2 separate regions of the Homo sapiens genome follow, and region 1 is linked to region 2. The links are contacts of gene promoters, found by promoter capture Hi-C in blood cells and fetal thymus (Javierre and others, 2016). All regions are on one chromosome and are shown on one strand. The core of a region is centred on a gene start or on the middle of the fragment in contact, and the rest is flanking DNA. Distances in the headings are between cores, read along the strand shown. Region 1 overlaps CAPN13 (calpain 13). Region 2 holds the start of XDH (xanthine dehydrogenase).

The links. The method cuts DNA at HindIII sites, captures the fragments that hold promoters and counts their contacts. A CHiCAGO score of 5 or more calls a contact.
Region 1: a fragment that was not itself captured here is called in contact with the fragment with the promoter of XDH in region 2 in 1 of 17 cell types (total B cells); the score reaches 5.5 in total B cells.

What each region holds. Positions count from the first base shown.
Region 1 is chr2:30,741,625-30,744,687 of GRCh38, forward strand. CAPN13 (calpain 13) reads right to left here. Exons shown (of 23, transcript NM_144575.3): 13 at 1,759-1,955; 14 at 702-735; 15 at 284-340. Among named protein-coding and RNA genes, the nearest start is that of CAPN13, 64 kb to the right of the region's middle. The HindIII fragment of the contact is 4,692 bases long and covers 1-3,063 here.
Region 2 is chr2:31,413,334-31,416,537 of GRCh38, forward strand. It overlaps XDH (xanthine dehydrogenase), which reads right to left and starts at 1,409. Exons shown (of 36, transcript NM_000379.4): 1 at 1,292-1,409. The coding sequence starts at 1,333. RefSeq lists an enhancer at 3,148-3,197. The HindIII fragment of the contact is 5,234 bases long and covers 14-3,204 here.

The DNA.
Region 1 (3,063 bases), core at 304-2,803, 670 kb before region 2:
ATTTAGAGGGCAATGCACCTCACACCCCATAATTATCCCCTCCCTTTCTAAGCTCTGCATTCCAGCTTGAAGTCCCCCGGATGACACTGGGTGGGGCGCCACGTCTCTACCGAGCTTGGCAGCCACAGCAGTTCTGGAGACGATCCAGGAAGAGAGGCAGGTAAAATAGTCCATCAAGTCACTTCTCCTCTCTGCATCCCAGTAAGGGCCTGTGAGAGCTGTCCCTCCCTCAGGTCCCCTTTCTCCAATCCCACGTAAGGCCCCTGGGTGCTAGGTACCATACCTGCTGAGCATATCTGTTGAAAATGCTTTGTTGGGAGCCATGTTCTGAAGGGCTTCCCTGGATCAAAGGGAAAATAGTCAATGTTAGACTTCTGGGGAAGGAGGCCACCCATCTGGTACAGCAAGGGTGCAACAACCCCTGCCAAGATCTGAGAAAGAGTCTTTATTGGGCAGTTGGAAAAAGCCTTCTGGGGAATGAGAAAACTGAAGTTTGTGGAAGGAAGAGGGCTGGGTTGAGCCTGGCCTTGGAGGCCTGGTCTTCTCCCCCTACCCCGCCCCTTTGAGCCTTCATCGGCCTATCATGGTGTCTCTCTTTTCATTGGTTGGGGGCAGCGGGAGGTGTAAAGAAGGAGACGGAAGCTCTTGGGGATGGGATGGGGCCAATGAGGCTCGCCAGCCAAACCTTGCTGCATACCTACCTTCATTCTGAGGTTGAAATGGCTGCTCAGGTGCCTAGAAAATCAGAGGACAGTGTGACAAAGATGACCAGCTCACCACTCAAAGGGGGCCTGCATATAGAGGGCACCCAGGTGGCACTGGATATTGATGCCAAGTTCCTGAATGGGGCACCCTCAGCACCGCAGGACACGAAGTGAGCAGCTACAGCACCGTGGCCACCAGCCCAGCCTTTTGGCTGGAAATGGTCTGGTCTTTAACTGTTTAGTAAATGGTTCCTTCCACAACCCGATACACACTTCCAGCAACCCCCATTGTCAGTATGGCAGATAGGCTCTGCCTTAGGTTCCATCTCTGATTGGTGGTATGATGGCGGCCTGGCATGCTGGACTTAGAAGGTCTCACCAATGCTCAGCTGCAAAGACTGCCATAATGATGGCAATGTCTGTCTTGGGCCCAAGAGGAGACAAGGGGCCCAGTGGGGTGAGCACTTGCTGGTCCCAGTCTTGAATGATCAAGTTGGCATGGAAGACCCTCCATGATGGACTCTTTCTTTCAGGCCCATCTTTCACTGTCTCCCTGCTATACCCCACATTTCAGGCCATGTGATATGCTGGCCAAATGCCACCTTCCTGTATGGATGCCGATGCTACTTACTCTCCAAGCAGCCCTGTGCACAGCCACTTCCCTCCCGCCATTCATGCTTTTTTCTTCTACCTACCTTCCCATGGCTACCATCGCCTTCCCTTTTAAACTATTAAATTATGTTTTTCTTCAAAGCCCAGCTCACGTGTCATTTCCCTCAAGAAGCCTTCCTCAGTCCCTCTTGCCACTCAGTCCTCCCGTGCCACTTTGCATTTCCATCTGGCAATGGACCCATCCTGTTTGTGGTCTGGTTCTTGGTTCATAGACTTTCTCGCTCCCCCTTTATGGTGAGCTGCTCTAGAGTGGGGCCAATATCATGTCCCCAGTGACATAGCACAGGCTGCACGAATGCACAGAGAACTGCCCATAATTACACAATGTGTTTTTATAAAGTTAAGTAGAATAAAACATTTACAATCCCAGAGGGTTCTGTACCTGTCACTGTCTGGCATTTTCAGGAAGATTCGGAGCAAGAACTCCGCTGATTTTCTCCGTGTCTGTGCAACCACAACATAGTTCCCAGGGCTCAGATGGTAAGTCATGGTGAAGTTGCGGCGGAATTTATTATTTGAGCTTTGGACAGTGTTTCTGAACGAGGAAAAAAACACGGGTGGAAATTTCTCCCGGAACCGCTGGAATTAGAGGAAACACAATGATTGTGAGAAAGCCTCCTCTGTGCATGGACCCCAGTCACCAAGAAAGACCCACCACCTTCTAGACCGTCTCCATTCACCAAGATAACATTACAGGCTCTATAAATGGAGACAGTGCTCAGCTGAAGTCTCAAAAAGCAGTAGTGTTTAGCCTGTCATTTCATCTAGACCCTGGACACAATGGATGCAAGGAAATACCACACACAGTTTCATCTCATTGGGTCTAACAGCATCCTGAGTTTCTGAGTTTTCTCTCCCTGCTTATATAGAGAGAAAACTTCCATGGAAACTAGTGACATCATTTTGACACTGATTTTCTTCTGGGGCCCCTAAAGCCCCTTCTCTCCTGAATGTTTAGCAGAATACTTTGGACTGCTATACCATTACAGAATTGAATTCTTTTCACTTTCTCTGTTTCATCTCTCCAGTGAAGCCCCGAGATTCCTTCTCATTGGAGAATAATGGGCCCTGATCATTTTCCTTTTATTTCAATGTTTTCTTAGAGATAAAACAATAAATATAATGCAGTTCCTATTACCAGATGTCACATACATATTATATAATGAAAACCCCTTGCTAAACAAATTTTCCCCACTATAGTCAAGCATAGGGATTCCATTTCGAATGGTTATGCAGCAGGAAATGATTATTTATGAGCTATGCCTTGCAGGGAAAACGGGAAAGGGGAAAGTTTCTTTTCAGGGGTAGGGACAGGGCTGGGCTCCAAGGTAAAACAGGAGATAGGCCACTGCCCCAGGGGTATGGGAGGGTGGCATCTCCAACGCGATTCTGCTGACATTAACAATAGCCTCAGCAGGTTTGGGAGCCTGACTTGCTTGGGCCCTTATGGCAAAAGCAATGATGGAATCAGTTCTTCTCCAGAGGGTCAGCAGTGTCCCGTGGCTCTGGGTATGGGCGAGTGTGCATGCATGTGTGGGTGCATGGGGAGGCAGTGGGCATGCAGAGGTGTGTGGGCAGCATGCCTCCTATAATTAGAAGGCAACAGTCTCCCTGCTCACCCGTTATCTTGTCCTGCTCCCTCTGTTGACCCCTCATAGCCCTGTCCAGGCTCCTGATCCTTCAGAAC
Region 2 (3,204 bases), core at 159-2,658:
TCTTACACTTGAAAGCTTTGCCCTACTTCTTGGGTTGGTACCAGGTGCCAACCCTGAAAAGGATGCAGCTCAGAGAGGAAACTCTGAACCCAGAAGAACATGGCTGTCCCCATTCCCCAGCACTTCCCAAAGGCACCACTCAAAGAGAGTCCATCAATCTTTGGAGCACTGACGTTGAAACAGTTCATGAAATTTCTTTTACAGTCACCCAAACACATCCTGGAAATTTAAGACCTAGGAGTCCAGTGAAGCACATTATTGTTCTTGAAAATTATACCAAAAGTCACTCAAAATTACATCAAAAGTTTCTCAACTCAATGCAAAAATGCCAATATAGAAAGACAAATAAAATTGCCCTTCTTTGGGGGACACTTTGGGCACATTCATCACGCACAGTCCACACAGTAAGTTACAATGTGCAACTATGGGACTCTTTTACTATCCTTTTCATTCCTAAGTGGGAAGTTGAACAGGTATGAGCATCTCAGCAGTGTTGTAGGAGGGCAAATGGAGGCTAGTGACCATGTAATATGCTTGCCCCCTCTCTCTCTGCACCACATTAAAATTTGCAAAGATTCTCACTCTTGTCCAAGGGCTGGTACCCATGTCACCTTCCCTAAGTCCCTGTGTACCAATAAGGTAAATTCAAGTAGGTAACAGATTTGCAGCTTACATGTAGAACTCACTGTGTGTGGGTGGGGAGTGGGGGGAATGCAGGAGATGCCCTTTATGAAAAAAAAATTGTGGTTTGCCACAAGGTGTCAGTATATGTCACCTCACAGTGAATCAGGACTGGCTGTTAAACCTATATATATAATATATTAGAATCAAAGGCTGCGTACATCTTATATCCTGATAAAAGCAGGAAAACACATTCCTGTTCCTTCTCTCTGTAAAGAGAGCAACGTAAATTTTAGGATATATTTGATTAAAGACAGAAATAGAAGTGTGGTGATGACCTCAAATCTCACCTAGAACTCAACTCCCCTTTCTCATTCTGTGCCAATCTCCACTACTGCAGAGAGTTGGCAGCTAGCTCACAGATGCCTCTCTGCTTGCCTCTCTCTCCCTCATTCTTTGGCCTCTGAGTATCTTGTCTGTGCTCTAGCCCCGAGAAGGTCTTCTTCCCTAATGTTACCAAAATGCAGCGACACCTTTAAAGCGAGAGAGAGAAAGACAGAACAAGTAAGAGGGGACAGGAAAGACAGAGAACAAGATATGGCTCTGCCAGAGGACACATTTCCCCTCCCAGGGAGAAGGGACACAAAACCAAAGGTCAGCTCCTACTTACCTTTCTGCCATTCACAAAGAAAACCAATTTGTCTGCTGTCATTGTCACAGGTTGGGGTCCCCGAACTCCAGGTACCTCACTCCTAAGAGACACTGGCAGGTAGTTATCACTGCTCTGTGACCTGAAAGTTACGCCTCCCAATAAAATGAAATAAGGTCCACCAATGGGAGGGAACCAGCTCAGAGCTTCAGGGCATGAAGAGTTCTTGGCAAAAGCCACTGGTTTACATAATCAAGGAAGTGCAAACAATCACACACAGCAAATTACAATCTCCACACCTGTGTCAAAGAGCACAGGAAACTACATCCAGATATCAGTAAGGTTGTTGACTTGGCACTAGGCGACTGTGGGTCTTGGGCGCTGCTCTTATGAAACCTGCTTCGTCCTCCCACTTGCTGCAAGACAGAGAAGGGGAAGACAGAGGAGGGAAAGGACTATTCTCAGAGTCACTGCTAATAGAGCTGATTCACACCCTCTGTGTCTACATTTGTCATTTTACCATTCAGGTTTACAGCAACACAGACTGACTGCATGAATGCAAGAGTCATTCTTTCACAGCCTGGTGGAGCAGAGAGGTCACAGGACATGGAGCCCCATGAACCTGACTCAAATCCTGGCATTTGACCTCAGCATGTTACTTACTACCTTCAGAACTCAGTTGCTTTCATCCTGTACAGGATCATAGAATGATATCAAGAATAGAAGAATGAGGGACAAATGACATTTTGGGAGTGCCTTGTAAATTTGCAAAGAACCAAAACATGTATCACTGTTGAAAAGACATCTTCAACATCTCAACAAATAAAATCCTAATAGCAAACTATTTTTGAGATTTGTCTTTTATTTGTTTCTCTCAGGAAAATATCCTTGACAAGTTGTCAGAGTAACTCATAAAAGTATTTCAAAACACCAAATAAATTAAAATGCTCATACCACATAGTCATAGGCTACAGTAACACATAGCTGAAAACCTTTCCCCATCCAATATCCATTAACTCTCAGTGGAAACACAGATGTGCACGTCCACTGGAGCAGCACTAAAGGGCTCTCTGCAGTCCAGCACCCTCCCAACTGCCCCTACCAGTTCTTTAGTTCAACACACACACACACGCAAAAAAAAAAAAAAAAAAAAAAAAAAAAACACACAGAGACCAGCATTCACTCTGGTCTTCTTCTGTCCTGTAATGACCCATACAGTGGCTCAGCCAGCCTTCCTTAAGTAAGACACCTCCCCTACAACCCTAGCAGGCTACCTGAGGGGGAAGAAAGGAGTATTAGGCAGATGTACTTGATATAGCAACAGCTTAGAGAAACTGAAGACTGACAGGACAACCACACAATCAACACAATGCCCCCTCTCACCACAGCCTTAATTTAACCAGGAGATGAAACTTTACTTGTTGGTTGACCAAATATCCCAGTTTGCCCTGGACTATCCTAGTTTTAGCCTTGAATCCCTGACAAATGCCTCAGAGATCCTAGTAAATCCTTCAGTCCAGGGCAAACTGGGATGGTTGGTCACTATAAAACTGGTTGTTGGCTGGGCATGGAGGCTCACACCTATAATCCCAGCACTTTCGGAGGCCAAGGTGGGTGGATCACCTGAGGTCAGGAATTCATGACCAGCCTGGCCAACATGGTAAAACCTCATCTCTACTAAAAATACAGAAATTATCTGGGAGCAGTGGGCCACCTGTAATCCCAGCTACTCTGGAGACTGAGGCAGGAGAATCACTTGAACCTAGGAGGCGGAGGTTGCAGTGAGCTGAAATCATGCCACTGCACTCCAGCCTGGGCGACAGAGTGAGACTCCATCTCAAAAACAAAACCGAAACCAAAACCGGTTGTTAAATCTGAGAGATTCCCTACCCCAGAAGCCACTTGGCAATGTCTGGGGATATATTTTATTGTCA